Linked DNA regions of Homo sapiens: all the other regions are linked to region 2. The links are contacts of gene promoters, found by promoter capture Hi-C in blood cells and fetal thymus (Javierre and others, 2016). All regions are on one chromosome and are shown on one strand. The core of a region is centred on a gene start or on the middle of the fragment in contact, and the rest is flanking DNA. Distances in the headings are between cores, read along the strand shown. Region 1 overlaps PSMB2 (proteasome 20S subunit beta 2). Region 2 holds the start of CLSPN-AS1 (CLSPN antisense RNA 1). Region 3 overlaps KIAA0319L (KIAA0319 like).

Region 1 (3,561 bases), core at 1,062-3,561, 130 kb after region 2:
TTTAAATAACATTTATTGTTCTAAACAATTTAATCTCATAGTATGGACAAGATCTTCATTGAAGACAAAACATCTGGGTTCTAACAAGGCCTCTTTGAGTATCTGGGGGAATACTTAATATACCATTGCAACTTGATGAAATTGTCTTGGCTAAGTATACAGTGAGTGTTCTGGCTAGTTAGTAGAGAAGAGTAGAGATTATCCTCTTAGCAAAAAGATTTAACTTACTTTGTGATAGGTAAAAGACTGTATTATTAATTCTCTTGGGGAGGGATACCAGTTTCTCTTTGCTATTCTGCCTCTTTTCCTCCCTCTTTCTCTCTTCTAATTTTAACTGTAAGAACACCAAGGTATTCTATGTCTGCCAGATTTTGCAGTACTGTTTTCACACTTATATATAACTAATAGCATTTTTAAAATCTGTAGCTAATTTAAGCAGGTTTGTTGTTGTTTAAAGTGATAAGCTTTCAAAAAGAGACTGGGATGTAGTTATGTAGTAGGAATTTTGGTAGCATCTTTTCTTCCAGAGTTTGGGTTGTTTTACCGTTATTATTTTTTCTCATTATATTTCCTAGAAGATAGAAAGGAGAAAGATTAATTAACCCAGTTTTACATGTTAAAAAAAAAAAAACCCAGAAGCTCATAGGGGTTAAGTTTTTTGCCTAAGGTCAGCTTTACTAAGAAGGTACTCAGAATGCACAGAGAATTCCAGAGCTTGGCAGAGTGCCGCACGCTACTCATTGGGAAATACAATAGGCAGATAATTATTTTCTCAGAAGTCTTGACTGCTGGTCAACTTATTTCTCTCTGGGACTACCCACTGTCCTATCACTAAAACAGAAACTTATTTGGAGGTGAGGACTACTCTGTAATCTCCAGGCGATGTTAGGAACCCTTTCTACTTAGCACAGCTGGCTTAGAATTCCAAGTAAGTATATAATATGAGTTTCATGCTAGGCACGGTGGCTCAAGACTGTCATCCCAGCACTTTGGGAGGCCAAGGTGGAAGGATTACTTGAGCCTAGAAGTTGAAGGCCAGCCTGGGCAACATAGTGAGACCCCATCTCTCTCTCTCTCTCTCTCCTTTTTTTTTTGGAGATAGAGTCTTGCTCTATTGCCCAGGCTGGAGTGGTGCAGTAGCACTATCTCGGCTCACTGCAGCCTCTGCCTCCCAGGTTCAGGCGATTCTCATGCCTCAGCCTCCCAAGTAGCTGGGATTATAGGCTCGTGCCACCACGCATGGCTAATTTTTGTATTTTTCGTAGAGACAATATTTCACCATGTTGGCCAGGCTGGTCTCAAACTCCTAACCTCAAGTAATCTGCCCGCCTCGGCCTCCCAAAGTGCTGGGATTACAGGCATGAGCCACCGTGCCCGGCCAAGACTTCATCTCTTAAAAAAATAATAATAAATCAGCAGGGCATGGTGGTAGGTGCCTATAGTCGTAGCTGCTCAGGAGGCTGAGGTGGGAAATTCACTTGAGCCTAGGAGTTTGAGGCTGCAGCGAGCTATGATTGCACCACTGCACTCCAGCCTGGGCGACAGAACAAAAGCCTGTTACTCCCCTCCCAACCCCTCCCCCCAAAAAAAGCAAAAACCATGAGTTTTTTAAGGCTGCCAAGTGGCCGTGTTAATCAGTGTTCAAAGAATGTTAAATGCCACTTTTAGGACCATTAGCTATTACACTTCATGCTTCATAATGAGGTGTCTCACTTACTGTGCGTTTAATTAAATACATAGACAAATTTAGGGATGGGGACATATCCATGGGCAAGGCCTGCTTACTACCCGCTGAAGCAAAGGCAAGAGGAGAAACACATCCTGCAGAGAAAAAGAAAGCCATATAAAATGGAAGTCCCACCCCTGATGCCTGGGGGCATAGACAGACTGAATTTAACATGGTAAATGGCGCAGCTGGTGTAGAAAAAAAAAATCATCCATTTGGAGATGAAGAGCAACGCAGACTCAGTCATGGTTCTCTATAAAACTTATGTTTTTAGATTTGCAGGTAATACAAAGAAAGGATACCTATAAATCCAAGTTATAATTATTTTTTGTTGCTTTTTATTTGTCTCAAAATTACTTTTCAGTTAAGTCTGGTGATTTGATTTAAATATTTGAGACTTATGGCCGGGCGCAGTGGCTCACGCCTGTAATCCCAGCACTTTGGGAGGCCGAGGCGGGCGGATCACGAGGTCAGGAGTTCGAGACCAACCTGGCCAACATGATGAAGCCCTGTCTCTACTAAAAATACGAAAATTAGCCGGGTGTGGTGGAGGGCGCCTGTCATCCCAGCTACTTGGGAGGCTGAGGCAGGAGAATCGCTTGAACCTGGGAGGTAGAGGTTGCGGTGAGCCAAGATCGCACCATTGCTCTCCAGCCTGGGGGACAAGAGCCAGACTCCGTCTCAAAAAAACAAAAAAACAACAACAAAGAAAGAGACTTACTATCCCTCCCTACCTCATGAGTTGTTTCTTTTCTCTCTCTTTCTCTTTTTTTTTGAACCCAGGCTGGAGTTCAGTGGCACAGTCATGGCTCATGGTAGCCCTGACCTCCTTGGTTCAAGTGATCCTCCCACCTTAGCCTCCTGAGTAGCTGGGACCACAGGTGCGCGCCATCATGCCCGGCTAATTTTTTAGTTTTTTTGTAGAAACCAAGTCCCACTGTGTTACCTAGGCTGGTCTGAAACTCCTGGGCTCAAGCAAGCCTCCCACCTCAGCTTCCCAAAGTGCTGAGATTATACCTGTGAGCTACTGTGCCCAGCTATAAGTTGTTTCTTTAGTAGTGGGCATGCAGTTTACCATTTGGGATTGGTCCAGATGCCCAGACTGAGTTTGTTTATTTCATTTGATGTGGTTGGAGCATCTGCTTTTTTCAGTCAGTGGCCTGGCATTCTCAGAATTGTTCGTTGGTTTCAACAATTAGGAATGACAAAAGAGCACCTATGCTTTGCCTTTGCAGTGCTTGCAAAATTTTTTTTTATTTTAAATTTTTGTGCGTTCATCGTATGTGTGTATATATATATTGGGTATATGGGATATTTTGATACAGGCATACAATGTGTAATAATCACATCAGGGTAAATGGGGTATCTCTCACCTCAATCATTTCTCCTTTGTGTGACAGACAACCCAATTATACTCTTTTAGTTATTTTAAAATATACAGTTAAGCTATTATTAACTATAGTCACTCTGTTTTGCTATCAAATACTTTTTGAAGAAGTGCTTTTATACAGGTTCTCATCCATAGACTTTAAGAAGATGGCAGCTTTTTCATATACCTTAAAGTGCTCCAAATGCCCTTCCTTTCAAAGAGAACAAGCTGACGTCCCTTGACCTGTTACCATACTCCAGGTCCTCTAGATTTCCCTACATTTTTACTTTCATTGTGATTTACTCAGTTGCTGCTAATATTTTCTTTCTCATGAAGAGTCAGAATATTCTCATTTGCCATGGGAAGAGATGTTGGTGTTCTGCTTTAGTTATCACTTTGCCATATCTTTTCTTTGCAGACCCCATATCATGTGAACCTCCTCCTGGCTGGCTATGATGAGCATGAA
Region 2 (3,349 bases), core at 366-2,865:
GAATTCACATATAGGACATCATATTGATCCCTATTAGATTTATATGGTTGCTTTTATCCCATCATTTCATTCTATTAAGATTCACTTTGGGTTCTAATTTATCACCTATCAAATTAACTCTCATACAGCTTTAGGTTATCCATAGATTTTTCTAAGGTAGTGGTTCTTCTCTGCAGAGCTCTTTGTTCAAATAAAATCTTTTAAAGAATGACAGATAAAAGTTGAACTGTTCAAAGATGGTAAGTGGGAAGTTTGGGAAACTTAGTGACTAGTGGCCTCTGAAGGAATTTTCCAGGAACTCTAGGATTTAGAACAACTTAGCTTTAAGAAAATACAGTATAGGCTGGGCGTGGTGGCTCATGCCTGTAATCCCAGCACTTTGGGAGGCTGAGATGGACAGATCCCCTGAGGTCAGGAGTTCAAGACCACCCTGGCCAACATGGTGAAACCCTATCTCTACTAAAAAAACAAAAATTAGCCAGGCATGGTGGCACGCACCTGTAATCCCAGCTACTCGGGAGGTTGAGGCATGAGAATCACTTGAACCCAGGAGGTGGAGGTTGCAGTGAGCCGAGATGGCATCTCTGCACTCCAGCCTAGGCGACAGAGCGACACTTCATCTCAAAAAAAAAAAAAAAGAGAAAATACAGTATAGGTCTTCGATAAAAATCAGTTTTCAGAAAGCCACCAAACTTCTGCCATTTTGGACCACATGGGACCAAGGTGACTTTGAATCCAGGGTGACACCAGATTTATTCTCCGGGGGAGCTGAAGTCATAAGAAGTAACTAGTCGTTTTGATTACCAGGAGCTCTGAGCCTTAGTCTTCCTTCTGATGTGGGGGTCAAGATTTGTTAGGCTGTAAGAAGATCCCAGTTTATTACCTTTCTACACCACACCATCTCTAGTTTGTCTCTTAAAGCTGGTGTGCTCAAATGCAAAATGAAATAGTTTGAACCTTCCAGCAGGTATTCTAATACATGTAAAAGAGATTAAGAGTTTTCTGGCTTTCAAATCACCCAATCTAAGTTGAATCCAGGCTCTGCTACCTTCTAGCTATGTGACCTTGGGTAAATGTAATCTTTCTGAGGCTCAATTCCCTCAACTGTAAAATGAAGAGAATAATAGTACCCATTCCTATGATAATATGTTAATGCCTGTAAAGCACAGTTATTAGCACACAAGACATATTAAGTGATCAACTTTTAAATACAGATGCTCCACATCTTACAATGGGACTATATCCTGATCAATCCATCATAAGTTGAAAATGCACTTTCATATTATCCAGATATAACTCCATCGTAAATCGAGAAGCATACTAAGTGCGTATCACATTCATGTCATCGTAAAGTTGAAAAATCATTAAGTCAAACCATCATAAGTGGAGACTATTACAAAAAAATTTAAATATTATCAAATGTATTATGTTTATTATTATTAGAAGTGACTCTGTTCTGCTTTTCTTTGCTTCCATATTCTGTGAGTATATTCATTGTTGCATTTTCTAATCCTCAAAATTGCTTTCTAGGAGGTTGAGGAAATACCTGGAGGATGAGGCAGAGGTGTCAGGAAGTGATGTGGGAAGCGAAGATGAGTATGATGGGGAAGAAATTGATGAATATGAAGAGGACGTAATTGATGAAGTACTTCCTTCTGATGAGGAACTGCAGAGTCAAATCAAGAAAATACACATGTCAGTATCCCAATAAGCCCTTCTGAGTAATAGGGTACATCTTAAGACAAGCCCTGTAACCAGCCAGAATGGTCCTTGTTTTGAACACCTTATTTCTCCTGTTGCAGGAAAACTATGTTGGATGATGATAAGCGACAGCTACGTTTATACCAAGAGAGGTACCTTGCTGATGGGGATCTGCACAGCGATGGTCCTGGGCGAATGAGGAAGTTTCGATGGAAAAACATAGGTATCTTGGTTGTTGTCTTTAAAAGCAATCAGTTACGGGCTGAGCATGGTGGCTCACGCCTGTAATCCCAACACTTTGGGAGGCAGAGGCAGGTGGATCACAAGGTCAGGAGTTCAGGACCAGCCTGAACAACATGGTGAAACCCCGTCCCTACTAAAAGTTCAAAAATTAGCAGGCTGTGATGGCACGCGCCTGTAATCCCAGCTACTCAGGAGGCTGAGGCAGGAGAATTGCGTGAACCCGGGAGACGGAGGTTGCAGTGAGCAGAGATCATGCCATTGCACTCCAGCCTGGGCGACAGAGCGAGACTCCATCTCAAAAAAAAAAAAAAAAAAGCAAACAGTTACAATGCATATTTGTCGAGTTTCAGATGGCAAATGGCAAGCAAAACTATAACAGGCTATGTGAAGACCTAGTTGTAACTGTTTTCTGTTAATGGATGGGAAAAGTTTACATCATTATATAGTAAATGATAAGGGTTTATTTTTTGTCTGTCCAAGCACCCTCTCCTGTGAGGACTGCCGAATGCTGATTACCTTCACTCTTTGTTTAGATGATGCTTCCCAGATGGACTTGTTCCACAGAGACTCTGATGATGATCAGACTGAAGAACAGCTTGATGAGTCAGAAGCCAGGTGGAGGAAGGAGCGAATTGAACGAGAGCAGTGGCTTCGGGACATGGTAGGAGTTCACCTACTCTGACCCTAGTTTATGAGACTGTCCCTTAGCTTGTCATGATAGTTTCAAAATCTTAGCTTGTCATGATAGTTTCAAAATCTTAGGCAACATATTGCTATCTCTTTTAATCCTTGAGCTATCTTTTGTGTTTTGAGAAGGCTATACCATAGACAGTTCTCTTCATGTTTGTCTAAGATTAATTTTTTTTTGTCTAAAGCAGCAAAGGCTGCAAAAAGGAAAACAAATACCCCAGGAACTCTAGTTTCACAATCCAGGCCATGCTAACTATTTAGGAAGGTTATAGACTTTTAATGCTGTATATATATATATATATATATATATATTTTTTTTTTTTTTCAGGCACAGCAGGGGAAAATTACAGCTGAAGAAGAAGAAGAAATTGGGGAGGACAGTCAGTTTATGATACTGGCCAAGAAAGTTACAGCCAAAGCACTGCAGAAGAATGGTGAGCTCTTGTTTCTCCTTAGGGTCTAGCCCCCTGGATTGTTAGTGGTAGAGCTTTGGAGGTGACTCTAACCTTCAGGAGCTGTTGCAGCTTAATCATAAGCTTGTGTCTAATACTGTCTTAAAGAGGCTTCACAGAGGTGGTGGGAGACAGTGTACTTAGATCTTAGACTATTGGGCAGTAGAGACTGTATTCATGAGTATATGTGGCTGGTTTTACTTTATGTTCTAAGGCTCAGAGTAGTTAATTCTGGCTTTCTCTAGTTGCCCAGGATTGTATAC
Region 3 (3,082 bases), core at 27-2,526, 210 kb after region 2:
AAATGAGGGTGGTTTTCATATTTTCTTTAGCCTGTGAAGTATAAGTATTCTGTTTCAAGTAGGTAGAGTAAAAGGACTTTCCCCTACTCTTCTGCCTATAAATATTGCCCTCTTCTAGGGAGATGTTCTGGTACTGGGTACTGTTATTCTTTTTTTTTTTTTTTTTTTTTTTTTTTTAAGACGGAGTCTTGCTGTGTCTTCCAGGCTAGAGTGCAGTGGTGTGATCTTGGCTCACTGCAACCTCCATCTCCTGGGTTCAAGCGATTCTCCTGTCTCAGCCTCCTAAGTAGCTGGGATTACAGGCATGCGCCACCACAGCTGGCTGATTTTTTGACTGCCATGTTGGTCAGGCTGGTCTCGAACTCCTGACCTTGTGATTGTTTTTCTTTCTTTTTTTTTTTTTTTTTTTTTTTTTGAGACGGAGTCTCGCTCTGTCACCCAGGCTGGAGTGTAGTGGCCCGATCTCGTCTCACTGCAAGCTCTGCCTCCCAGGTTCACACCATTCTCCTGCCTCAGCCTCCTGAGTAGCTGGGATTACAGGTGCCTGCCACCACGCCCGGCTAATTTTTTGTATTTTTAGTAGAGATGGGGTTTCACTGTGTTAGCCAGGAAGTTCTCGATTTCCTGACCTCGTGATCCACCTGCCTCGGCCTTCCAAAGTGCTGGGATTACAGGCATGAGCCACTGCGCCCGGCCACCGATTGTTATTCTTTTCAACAGTTTGTCACAATCCAGTATCTTTGAGGCTTTTTAGTGACAGTGTTATAGGAAAGGACTTGCTGTTGTAAGCATTCTTAACCAGCAAAGTACTGCAAGATTCAGGTTTTGTGATTGAGTCCTTGGAAGCTTGTTTTCCATCTAGCAGATAATCAAGAGTTAGTGTGAATAGTAGCTGATATGTATCTGTTGGGCAAGTAGTTCCATGAGGAGTTTGTTTTTGTTCAGAATGATCTTTAGGAAAAATGGAAATACCACGGTGAAGGGAAAGAAGTCAGAATATGTACACAAAGCCTATTAATTCTTGTGTAGCAGTTAGTGTAGTTTCAGCAAATCATCTACACCATACATTTAAAAAACTGTACTCTTAGCAAAGCTAGGCACATAGCAAAGGCAGTGAGTAGTAATTATTTTCAAAGGACTGCTTTGTGAGGCAGCTGCCACCTTTCAATCCAACCTGTGTGTAGTTGAGGAAAAAAATGTTACCCCTTTTGAAAAGGAGGAGAGAGGGCAATGGTTATTACCTTGGCTTTTTTCAAACTTCGTAATACCTGATTGTGTCCTTCAAAGGATTTAGTTACCTCCTCTGCCTTGTTTCTGAATGTGCTAACCCCTGCAGGGTAGAACTGATGTGGAGAGTAAGGTGGAACCATTTTTTTTGTATTTGTTTATTAGTGGGTGTGCAGGTGACAGACATGCTGACAGTCAAAAGGGAGGTGGAGGGTGCCCCCTGAGGAGGTTTGTTTTTGAACGGTTCCTGTGAGTTGTTTTTGGGATTGATAATGTGCCTGCTTATCTCATTTTCATGTGGCAGCCATCTTGGCTGAGACCCATTGCTTCTGAGAGAATGCATACTTTTGATGATAGCTGTAGGAAGACAGATGGTGTAGAGCCATAGTTCAATTACTGAATAAAGAGACAAATTTAAGGCTGTGCCTTTCTCCTTGATAATAGTTCATTTATAGGTATAATTATCAAGGGAAAGCTTTGAATGAAGTCTTGACCATATTAGAAAATTGTGAGATTTCAAGAAAAGAATTTTAGCTTCAATGACGGTAAATATTAATTGCAAATTTTTTCTACAGAATACTCTAACCATGTATTTGTTTCTGCAGCGAAAACCCCACCGAAGAGAAGAATTTATCAACTGCTTTTTTTTTCTTTTTTGAAATAATACTGGTAGCTCATTCTCTCTACTCTTATTTCCACCATCACAGCCTTTCCTTTGGGATACAGTCTGATGAATTTAGTTAGAATTTACATTTCTGGACACTAACAGTATGACTCCTGAAACAGGGGACGTTCTGTCTCTGCTCCCTACTTGGTTGCTAACCAGGGCAGTTTTCAAGTTTGCTTGAGAAGCCAAGCTTATTACCTGAGATTTAAGAATGCCAGAGCCAACAGCACTGTCTTTAAATATTTCCAGAGTTGTTCACAGCTTTCTAAAAGTATTTAATGAATTTCCTTCTGGCAATAATTCATATATCCTGTAGACTTTTCCACTCTGCTACTTGGAATTATGAAACCTGGTCTAGATTTTGTGCCAGATATATTAGAATTCTGTCTTTTGAGAGGTGGTGATGTAAGTAAGCATTGCTAGTTCCAGAGCCTCCTGTTTTGGGGATCCTCCAGGTAATACATATGGGAGCACTGCTTTCTCTGCTTTGCTATGATTTTAGAAAGAGGGGAATTGGCTTTGCTCCACTGTTCTCACCCTGGGTAAGCTTTCTACATGCTCCTACCAACAGTGCATTCCAGACTTTCCCAAAAGATTTTCAGTCTAAGGTTCTACCAACTGTAAGCCATTTTTTGTAAAGATTTAATATTGCTTTTGCCTGGGCCCTGGGAGCAGAGCCAGGGTATGGCAGCGTGGGCAGGGAGAGGAACTGATCTAAAATTGGAGTATATTTTCATCTTACCTTTTATCCCAGTTACTTCTAGAATCCAATATTGACTCTACCAATGCCTTTCTGCTTCCTCCTTTTATGAACTCTTTGTCCCAAGAGTATCAACACTGAAAATTTAATCTTAAGTTAAATTATTCTTCAAAGGTTAACTATCTGGTAAATGATGGACCTAGAGCTGAAACTAGAATCATTTAAGATGTTAACTGTCTTTTAACCACCTAAGACAAAGAACTATGATTCAGGGAATGGATGAAAAAGAACTGTTTTTTTCTTTTCGTATTTTTATTATTGAACACATGATGTAACAACATTAAATAACATTTAATTTTTAAAAACTCAGTCAAAATCCCACGAATTAAACATGTGAACTGAGAGATCAGAGTACCTCTTCCTCTTTTTTTTTTTTTTTGAGACGGAGTCTCACTCTGTCGCCCAGGCTGGAGTGTAGTGGCACAATC

Evidence for each region. Contacts are between HindIII fragments. The CHiCAGO score rates a contact against its expected background, and 5 or more counts as called.
Region 1: a fragment that was not itself captured here is called in contact with the fragment with the promoter of CLSPN-AS1 in region 2 in 2 of 17 cell types (M1 macrophages and erythroblasts); the score reaches 5.4 in M1 macrophages.
Region 3: a fragment that was not itself captured here is called in contact with the fragment with the promoter of CLSPN-AS1 in region 2 in 1 of 17 cell types (naive B cells); the score reaches 5.7 in naive B cells.

The regions. Positions count from the first base shown.
Region 1 is chr1:35,609,361-35,612,921 of GRCh38, reverse strand. PSMB2 (proteasome 20S subunit beta 2) reads left to right here. Exons shown (of 6, transcript NM_002794.5): 4 at 3,514-3,561. Among named protein-coding and RNA genes, the nearest start is that of PSMB2, 30 kb to the left of the region's middle. The HindIII fragment of the contact is 3,690 bases long and covers 467-3,561 here.
Region 2 is chr1:35,737,711-35,741,059 of GRCh38, reverse strand. CLSPN-AS1 (CLSPN antisense RNA 1) reads right to left here and starts at 1,615. Exons shown (of 2, transcript NR_199043.1): 1 at 1,547-1,615. CLSPN (claspin) reads left to right here. Exons shown (of 25, transcript NM_022111.4): 19 at 1,531-1,695; 20 at 1,803-1,924; 21 at 2,478-2,605; 22 at 2,963-3,068. RefSeq lists enhancers at 1,322-2,521, 2,265-2,766. The HindIII fragment of the contact is 7,776 bases long and covers 1-3,172 here.
Region 3 is chr1:35,532,192-35,535,273 of GRCh38, reverse strand. The region is part of intron 2 of KIAA0319L (KIAA0319 like); the gene reads left to right. Among named protein-coding and RNA genes, the nearest start is that of KIAA0319L, 24 kb to the left of the region's middle. The HindIII fragment of the contact is 856 bases long and covers 849-1,704 here.